Regions from separate parts of the Homo sapiens genome. Here region 1 is linked to region 2. The links are contacts of gene promoters, found by promoter capture Hi-C in blood cells and fetal thymus (Javierre and others, 2016). All regions are on one chromosome and are shown on one strand. The core of a region is centred on a gene start or on the middle of the fragment in contact, and the rest is flanking DNA. Distances in the headings are between cores, read along the strand shown. Region 1 overlaps EPS15L1 (epidermal growth factor receptor pathway substrate 15 like 1). Region 2 holds the start of RAB8A (RAB8A, member RAS oncogene family).

Region 1 (4,886 bases), core at 540-3,039, 280 kb after region 2:
GAAATAGAAAACAAGCAGTAGAGAAAAATGAAGCCAAAAGCTGGTTATGGGAAAGGTCAATGAAATTGGTAAACAGATCACCAATACCAGGAATGCTAGGGAAATTCTCACTACAGGTCTTAAGGACATTAAAAAGGGGCCAATAAGAAAATACTGCAAATGAGTCTTTGCCTTCAAGGAGCTTCAAGCGCTAAAGACCAAAAGGTCCACAGGGAGTGAGCGAGGTGGGCGCCAGGGTAGCAGGAGCCCTGAGAAGGAGGGTGAGTGCCCGTCTCTGAGCAGGCCCCGGGCCTGGGTTGCAGCCTAGAAAACGGAAGAAGGCTATGAAGCACGCTCACTCCATCATGAACATCCTCTGCTCCATCACCGAGGCTGCTTTTTTTTTTTTTTTTGGTTTTGAAATCCAAGTTGACACCTATTTAACCCAATCTCTTGGGCATAATATGCAAAATACCCGGTGTCTGCCACGCCCGGGGATGGGAGTACAGGTATGCTGGAGTTGGAAACTGGAGGGTCAGAGTTGGCTGATGCTCTCAGGAGACACCAGGCAAGGCAGCCGGGCTGAGACGCCTGCACTTACTCCTGCCGTGACGGGAGCACCTACCAAACGTGACTCTAAGGTCCCCACCAGTGCTGTGTGTTACAAGGACCGTGCAGGGTGGCCGGGTCCATGCGAGCATGTGGTGCTTGTGTGATTTAGTCTTTTTTGGGAGATGAAGGGGCAGTGGGGGCAGATGACTAGAGTTGAGGGGTAGGAATGGGGATAGAGAAATAAGAACTATGGGTGACATCCTCCTTGCCCTGATGTGGGGCCACTGGACTGCTAACTGCACCTTGGGGCTCACAGGATGTCACTGCAGTGACTAGGCCAGTGAGCTCCCTCACTCAGCAGGAATGAAATCAGCCTGGGATACCAGCTCCCGGAGAACAGACACCATGGCCCACACTCGCAGGCACCATGTACGCTCCACGAAGGGAAGGGGGCCTTCGGGAAGCGCCACCCTTACCACACAGAGCAGGCACGCAGCTCTCCCGGGCAACGTCCCACCCCACTCACCTTCGAAGGTAAGGAAGGGTTTTTCGTGAATGGATCCGAGGTAAATGGGTCATTCTTTGTCTGTTTCTTGAAGAAGTCGTCAGTGGCAGAGCCACGGAATGGGTCACTTTCTTTGAAAGGGTCCCCTCCAAATGGATCTAGAAGGAAAAATGCCCCATAAGTAAACATTATACCAAGTGAAAGAACCCAGACATAAAAGAACACATCACAGAATGATGCCGTTTACATGAAATTCTAGAAAGGTAAGAACGCTAGTGACGGAAAACAGGATAATGGTGGCCAGGGGACCCTGAGGAGAGGGTGGAGGGTGACAACAAAGGGGCCTCAGGAATGACAGAAGTGTTCTCAAATTGCACACAACCGTGCATATTTAATGAAACTCATCTTATTACATAGTAAAATGGGTGAATTTTGTTCTGTGTAAATTATGCCACTCAATAAAATTGACTTTAAAAATAATAATATCCTGGCCAGGCACAATGGCTCATGCCTGTAATCCCATCACTTTAGGAGGCTGAGATAGGAGGATCACTTGAGGCCAGGAGTTCAAGACCAGCATGGGCAACACAGAGAAAAATAAAATAAAAAATTAGCCAGGTGTGGTGGCACACGCCTGTAGTATCAGCTACTAAGGAGGCTGAGGCAGAAAGGCTGCTTGAGCCCAGGAGGTCAAGGCTGCAGTGAGCTATAATTGCGCCACTGCACTCCAGCCTAGGCAATAGAGTAAAACCCCATCTCTAAATAAATAAATAAAATATCCTGCAGGAGCTGGATATAATAATAATAATAATAATAATAATAATAATAATAATAATAATAATAAACAACGCAGGTAAATCCATAGAGACAGAAAATAGGTTGGTGGGTGCCAGGGGTTGCGGGAGGGAATGGGGAGTGACTGCTGATTGGGATGGGGTCTCCTTTTGGGGGGATGAGAATGTTGTGGAACTAGATGAAGGTGATCATTGCACAACACTGTGAGTGTGCTCAATACCACTGAATTGGATGCTTTAAAACAGTGACTTTTATGTTACATAAATTTCACCTGAAAAAAAATAAATCGGTCGGGCATGGTGGCTCACGCCTGTCATCCCAGCACTTTGGGAGACCAAGGTGGGCAGATCACCTGAGGTCAAGAGTGTGAGACGAGCCTGGCTAACACGGTGAAACCCCGTCTCTACTAAAAATACAAAAAATTAGCCGGGCGTGGTAGCGGGCGCCTGTAGTCCCAGCTACTTGGGAGGCTGAGGCAGGAGAATGGCGTGAACCCGGGAGGCGGAGCTTGCAGTGAGCCGAGATCGCGCCACTGCACTCCAGCCTGGGCGACAGAGCGAGACTCCGTCTCAAAAAAAAAAAAAATAAAAAATAAATAAATAAATAAATAAATAAAATAAATAAATAAATTAGCAAGCAATGTGATCCCACCACACTCCAGGGTGGGGTGCGGGCAGTGACTGGACCTGGGGAGGGGAGCCACCTCCAGAAGGGAACGGGACCGAGAATGGGTACAACATGGATGGACGGCCGTCCTTCCCAGTTACATGGCTGCCATCCCCGGTGTATGTGGACACAAGTCCCACCACATGCGACTTCTGAGCCAGGACTGGACACAGTCTAAAGACCGGTCCGGGAAACACTGAATTTTACCTGTTGAAGTTGTCTGCTGTTCTGCAAAGGGGTCATTCTGGAACGGGTCGCCTGGTTGGAAGAGGAGAGAAATGCTTATTAGCTCTAGGGCACAGGATGCGGGCCGGGCCCTTGGACACAGCCACCCACCTCCCAAGCCTTTCATTGCCTTCTACTCCTCCAGTGTAGGGAGAGAATGTTAGTTCCTTCTCTACTATCCACCTGCCCTCAAAACCTTGGCAAATCAAAGAGGGGGACCTGGAGGAGGCAGCTGTTTCTGGCTAGGATGTTTAAGATGAGAAGGAAGGTACTGCTGGCTGTCCCACACAGACTGGAGTTGGGGAAGACACAGAGTGGGCTAGAATTCACTCCTCTCTTCCCATGCTGGGTTTCCTTTATCCCATCTGCCTGCCAGCTCCCTGGGTAAGAGGACACAGGACCCTGGGCTGTCCCTCACTTTATCACCGGCCCTGCAGCAATGAGGCGGCGGCACCCCTGGGCTTCAGGGGCTGCCAGATTCGCCTCTCAGACCCGGCAGGCTTCAAACCCAAGCTGAAGCTCAAGCTCCCGCTGCCCTCTCCCCACCTCAGTGTTTTTCTCAAAAATGTAGAGAGCCTTCCTCCTGGAAATACTGTTTTGCTCTGAAACATGGACAGAAACTTGGAAATCTTGTTTCTGGAATTCTTAGTTATTCTTGACTCAGGTGTGGCTCTGGACAGACTCCTAAAATTATCCAGACCTTAGGTTTATGTAGGAATCCATGGTTTTCCAGGTACTTTCATGATCATTACTAGCTCTGATTATTTTATCAACCCTGTGAGGTGAGCAAGGAGGAAATTTATTAACCTGCTGAGGGATTAGGAAACTGAAGTACTGAAGGGTTCAAGGGGGCTGGCCAAGCTGCCTTCAAATGTGGGTCTTGTGGTGAGCTTGGAACACTTCCCACTGTATCTTGATGCCTTGGCTCTCTGGTTAACAGGGTGAGATAAGAAGCTTAAAAGGCGTTCCTGCTGGGTGCGGTGCCTCACACCTGTAATCCCAGCACTTTGTGGGGCTGAGGCGGGTGGATTACCTGAGGTCAAGAGTTCGAGACCAGACTGGGCAACACAGTGAAACCCCAACTCTACTAAATATACAAAAATTAGCCGGGTGCGGTGATGGGCGCTGAGGCAGGAGAATTGCTTGAACCCAGGAGGCGGAGGTTGCAGTGAGCCGAGATTGCGCCACTGCATTCCAGCCTGGCTGACAGCAAGAGAGCGAGAGTTCGTCTCCAAAAAAAAAAAAAAAAAAGGCATTCCTTTCCCCCTCCATTTCAGATTGTGGCATGTCCTTACTTTTCTAGTTGAAGAACCACTCTAAATTCGACATAAAACACACAGTCTTTCAATGAGAAAGTGGGTAGCAAGTGAGATACCTTTGAAGGGGTCAGCTCCTTTAAATGGGTCAGATTTGAAGGGGTCTTCTGTCTGGAAAGGATCCGGATGCAACTCTTGCGTGTTGTTGCTAAATAACAAGGCTTTATTTTTGAAAGGATCATCCTACAATTTTGTGAAGAAACAGGACAGGGATTTTATTATTTCTGAGTTAAAGCAAAGTACGGAATTCCATACTTAACTCACATTTCCACTTTGAGTAGCATGACCCTAAAAAGAATGATTTAGCCAGGAGTTCGAGGCTGGCCTGGGCAACATAGCAAAATCCCATCTCTATAAAAACAAAAATTTAAAAATGAGGCCAGGCATGGTGGCTCACGCCTGTAATCCCAGCACTTTGGGAGGCCAAAGCAGGTGGATCACCTGAGGTCAGGAGTTCAAGACCAGCCTGGCCAACATGGTGAAAACCTGTCTCTACTAAAAATACAAAAAATTAGCTGGGTGTTGTGCCGGGCACCTGTAATCCCAGCTACTTGGGAGGCTGAGGCAGGAGAACTGCTTGAACCCAGGAGGTGGAGGTTGCAGTGAGCTGAGATTACGCCATTGCGCTCCAGCCTGGGCGATAGAGTGAGTCTATCTCAAAAAAAAAAAAAAAAAAATCAAGGTGTGGTGGCGTGTACCTATAATCCCAGCTACTTGGGAGGTTGACTCAGGAGATTGCCTGAACCCAGGAGGTGGAGGTTACAGTGAGCTATGATTGTGCCACTGCACTCCAGCCACAACAGTGCAAGACCCTGTATCTTTAAAAAAAAAAATTAATTAAAGATCAT
Region 2 (4,992 bases), core at 2,426-4,925:
TGCAGTGAGCTGAGATCGTGCCACTGCACTCCGGCCTAGGCAACAAAGAGTGAAACTCCATCTCAAAAAAAAAAATAATAATGGTATAGGGCCAGGCATGGTGGCTCATACCTGTGATCCCAGCTTTTTGGGAGGTGGAGGCTGGAGGATCTCTTGAGCCCAGGAGTTTGAGACCAGCCTGGGCAACATAGGGAGACCCCATTTCTACAAAAAATAAAAAAATTAGCCTGCCATAGTAGCGTGCAGATGTAGTCCCAGCTACTTGGGAGGCTGAGGTGGGAGGATGGCTTGAGCCCAGGAATTCCAGACCAGCCTGGGTAACATAGCAAGACCCCATCTCTACAAAAAATAAAAATTAGCCATGCGTGGTGGTGCATGCCAGTAGTTCCAGCTACTCTGGAGGCTGAGGTGGGAGAATCACTGGAGCCTGGGAGGCGGAGGTTGCAGTGAGTGAAATCACACCATTGCTCTCCAGCCTGGGCCACAGAACAAGACCCTGTCTCAAAAATAAGTAAATAAATGAGGATAATACCAAGAAAAAAGAATATTCAGAGGTGATCAAGACTATCAAATACCACAGAGGCTGAGGCCTGTAGGTGGTCAATGCCTCTGGTTGAAGCTTTTTTAACCAGAGCTAGATTAGCAGAAGAATGAGCTGAAGTGGAAGGGAGGAGGAAAGGCTGGGCCCTCCTTCCACAGATCCTTAAGTAAGCCTCAAGGCCCCGGAGGCCCCAGAGTGACCTAGAACAGACTGGACCATCTCTAAGAAGCAGGGAGCCCTAGTGATCAAACTGCGGCCTGGGAAGCTTGGCACTCTGAGTTCAGATACCAAATTCCCACTTTTAAGCAGGAAGGGGGAAAAGTCACTTAACCTCCTCTGGCTTCAGTTTTCTCACCATTAAACAGGAAAAAAACAATAACATCGTTTTGCTGGGCTGGTACTGGGATTAAAATTTTAAGAGTCAGGGGCCGGGTGCAGGGGCTCACGCCTGTAATCCCAGTACTTTGGGAGGTGGAGGCAGGCGGATCACGAGGTCAGGAGTTCGAGACCAGCCTGGCCAACACAGTGAAACCCCATCTCTACTAAAAATACAAAAAAATACACCACACCAGGCGTGGTGGTGGGTGCCTGGAATCCAAGCTACTTGGGAGGCTGAGGCAGGAGAATCGCCTGAACCCGGGAGGCAGAGGTTGCAGTGAGCCAAGATCGCGCCATTGCACTCCAGCCCTGGTGACCGTGAGAGACTCCATCTCAGAAAAAAAAAAAAGTCAGGGTCTTGCTCCGTCGCCCAGGCTGGAGTGCAATGGTGCGATCACAGCTCACTGCTGCCTTGACCTCCTGGGCTCAAGGGATCCTCCCACCTTAGCCTCCTGAGTAGCTGGGACTACAAGCATACACCACCATACCTGGCTAATTTTTTAAAAAAATTTTTTGTTTTTTGAGATGGAGCCTTGCTCTGTCACCCAGGCTGGAATGCAGTGACACAATCTCGGCTCACTGCAACCTCCGCCTCCCAGATTCAAGCAATTCTGGTGCCTCAGCCGCCTGAGTAGCTGGGACTACAGGCGCACATGACCACACCTGCCTAGTTTCTGTATTTTTAGCAGAGATGGTGTTTTACCATGTTGGCCAGGCTGGTCTGGAACTCCTGACCTCAGGTGATCCACCTGCCTTGGCCTCCCAAAGTGCTGGGATTACAGGTGTGAACCACCTCGCCTGGCCAAAAAACTTTTTTTTTTTTGCAGAGATGGAGGTCTTGCTATGTTGCCCAGGCTGGTCTCCACCTCCTGGCCTCCAATGAACCTCCACCTCAGCCTCCCAAAGTGCTGGGATTACAAGCGTGCACCATGACGCCCAGCTAATTTTATTTGTTGTAGAGATGGGGATCTCCCTATCTTGTCCGGGCTGGTCTTGACCTCCTAAGCTCAAGCAATCCTCCTGCCTCCCAAAGTGCTGACTCCCAAAGTGCTGGGATTACAGGCCTGAGCCACCACACCCAGCTGCAAGCCCGATTTTCCAAATGTATCTCTCCTCTGTTTTTCTCTTTCTTTTTTTTTTTTTTTTTTTTTTTGAGACGTAGTCTCATTCTGTCGCCCAGACTGGAGTGCAGTGGCGCGATCTCGGTTCACTGCAGGCTCCGCCTCCCGGGTTCACACCATTCTCCTGCCTCAGCCTCCCGAGTAGCTGGGACTACAGGCGCCCGCCACTACTCCCGGGTAATTTTTTGTGTTTTTAGTAGAGACGGGGTTTCACCGCGTTAGCCAGGATGGTCTCGATCTCCTGACCTCCTGATCCGCCCGCCTCGGCCTCCCAAAGTGCGGGATTACAGGCCTGAGCCACCGCGCCCAGCCTTTTTTTCTTTTGATAGGGTCTTGCTCTGTCGCCCAGGCCGAATTGCAGTGGGGCGATCACGGCTTACTGCACCCTCAACCTCCTGGCTTCCCAAAGCACTGGGATCACAGACGGGAGCCAACGCCCCGGCCAGTTTTTTCAACGTTGAGAGCCCTGGCCCCTAGATAGGACCCAGCATCCTCACTGCTCTAACCCCTCCCCCCCCACCATCCCCGGGCTGGCCCGGACAACCCCTAAGGTGGCCGAGGGCGGGCCCTGAGGAGGCCGGCGCGCGCTTCCGGGCACAGCTTGTGGCGGTGAAGCCGCTCAGATGGCGGAGGCCTTGGGTATCTCTAAGCAGATCGCTAGGCCGCAGACCTCGGAGCTCGTCTTGGGTCACTTTTATTTATTTTTTTTGAGACGGAGTCTCTCTCTGTCGCCCACGCTGCAGTGCAATGGCGCGATCTCGGCTCACTGCAAGCTCCGCCTCCCAGATTCAAGCAATTCTCTGCCTCAGCCTCCCGAGTGGCTGGGATTACAGGCGCCCGCCACCACGCCCGGCTAATTTTTGTATTTTTAGTAGAAACGGGGTTTCACCATCTTGGCCAGGCTGGTCTTGAACTCCTGACCTCGTGATCCACGCGCCTCGGCTTCCCAAAGTGTGGGAATTAAAGGCGTGAACCACCGCGTCCGGCTTGGGTCACTTTTCGAGTATACAGCTCCTCCTCTCTCCTTCCTCCCTAGGCCCCCACTGCCCCGACTCGCAGGCCGCAGACAAGGCTGAGAGCGCTACCTTGCTTTCCCGCGCTCGCCTCGGTGCCTACTGCGCCTGCGCGAGCTGTGAGGGCGGGACCCAGAGACACCCGCCCCAACTACTGGCGTGCGCCCTCTGCTGTCGCCTAACGGAACTCCGGGCGCGCGTGCGCACGCACCCCAAGCCACGCCCCGCCAGGCTGCCGGCGCGCGAGCGGTTGGCGCCGCTCCCTGCCTTCCCTCTCCTACAGTGGGGCGGGGCCGGGCCGCCCGAGTCGGGGGTGGAAGGCGGGGGCCACATAATGCCACGCCCCCGCCTCGTCCCCATTTGAAGCCCCGCGACTCTTCACTGCTGGTCAATCAGAGCCCGTGCTCTCCCTAGTGCCGGCCAATGGGAGGTGCGCTCGGGCTGCTTCCGGCTCCGCGCTCCGCTCGCCCCCTCCCAAGGTCTCCCCGCGACTGGCGGGACGCAGGGGCGGGCGTCGGCCGCGGTGACGCGCAGCGGGCCTGGAGCCAATAAGGGGCGGGCTCGGTGCTGATGGACGGTGCTGGTGGCCAGTGGAGAGGCGCTGGCCGCACTTCCCGTCGGGGAGAGAGTGTAATATGGCGAAGACCTACGATTACCTGTTCAAGCTGCTGCTGATCGGGGACTCGGGGGTGGGGAAGACCTGTGTCCTGTTCCGCTTCTCCGAGGACGCCTTCAACTCCACTTTTATCTCCACCATAGGTAACGGGACCGGGGAATGGCTGGGGGCGCCGGAGGCCCGGGCTGGGCGCGCCCCTGAGGGGCTGGGGCTGAGGGATCTACAGGGCTGGACGGGCCGAGGGCGCTGAGAGGGTCGAGGGGGCCTAAAGGGAGAAGAGCAGTCGCCTGCACCGCCGTTCGGGGGTTCCTGGGCCGTGGTGGGGGAGACCAGGTGCCCATTTTGCAGATAGGGAGACTGAGGCTCCGACCCTCAGCCCGCTCGTTAGGGCGTGTTATGTCTTGGGCTGGGGTCTTCGCGCCCGTCCTCTCGATCTGTCCTAGCAGCAGCCCTCGAAGCGGTTCTTTTGAGGCTCTTGCCTTACAGAAGTGGAAACTGAGTCATGGGGAATTGGCCATGGGAAAAAGACAGTGGCATCTCACCTTAATGAGCATTTACTATGTGCCAAGTGCTTCACGTGCATTTTCACACTCTTCAGTTCTTGGTGTTAAGTGCTGTTATGAGCCCGTCTGACAAGATGAGGAATCTGAGGCTCAGGGAGGGCATGGAACTTGCCCAAGGCCACACAGTCTGCACGTGGTGAGAATGGGATTTGATGGAATTTGAACCTGGCTGTGTCTCAACCCAAAACTCGAGGCTTAGCTCTCCTAGAGAGATGCCACTGCACACTCCCAGCTGATGACAAGCTCAGCTAATGCACCTTGGAGCCGGGACTCTAACCCACACCATTCCTGCTCTTTTCTCTGGAGCGTTCAGAGGTTGAGCCCCTCTCCCTGACCATGCTTCCCCTCATAAGCGTATTTTCCTCTAGAAGGAATGATAAGAAGAGTCAGGACCTTTTCCCTGCCCACCTTTCATCCTGCTCCAGGAATGACAGCAATGGCAAGTGACAGCACTGCCTGCCCTGGGACCTGTCATCCCCAAGAAGATGCAAGATAAAAGCCTCAGCGAGAAACTAAATCAGCCACTGCCACAGACAGCCTTGACTTCCCTATCAAAGGGCCCAAGACTCCAGCTGTCACTTTAGAACAGCTTTTCCTGTAGGGCCAGCCCACATTGTGGTTGAACAGAATTGGCTTGGTGCATCTCAGTTGTGATGTCCACAGAAGTGGAGCTGACCTCTCTCAGTGCCACAAAAGCAGTCCTGGCCCACAATGAAAAGGTTTGACCCAGGAGTAACACCTATTTGAGTGGCTTGTGAGC

Evidence for each region. Contacts are between HindIII fragments. The CHiCAGO score rates a contact against its expected background, and 5 or more counts as called.
Region 1: a contact is called between a fragment that was not itself captured here and the fragment with the promoter of RAB8A in region 2, in 1 of 17 cell types (naive CD8 T cells). The highest score is 5.5, in naive CD8 T cells.

What each region holds. Positions count from the first base shown.
Region 1 is chr19:16,391,247-16,396,132 of GRCh38, forward strand. EPS15L1 (epidermal growth factor receptor pathway substrate 15 like 1) reads right to left here. Exons shown (of 24, transcript NM_001258374.3): 17 at 4,098-4,221; 18 at 2,705-2,755; 19 at 1,058-1,194. Among named protein-coding and RNA genes, the nearest start is that of KLF2, 69 kb to the left of the region's middle. The HindIII fragment of the contact is 3,769 bases long and covers 1-3,674 here.
Region 2 is chr19:16,108,214-16,113,205 of GRCh38, forward strand. It overlaps RAB8A (RAB8A, member RAS oncogene family), which reads left to right and starts at 3,676. Exons shown (of 8, transcript NM_005370.5): 1 at 3,676-3,812. The coding sequence starts at 3,689. RefSeq lists a silencer at 3,059-3,718. The HindIII fragment of the contact is 12,373 bases long and covers 805-4,992 here.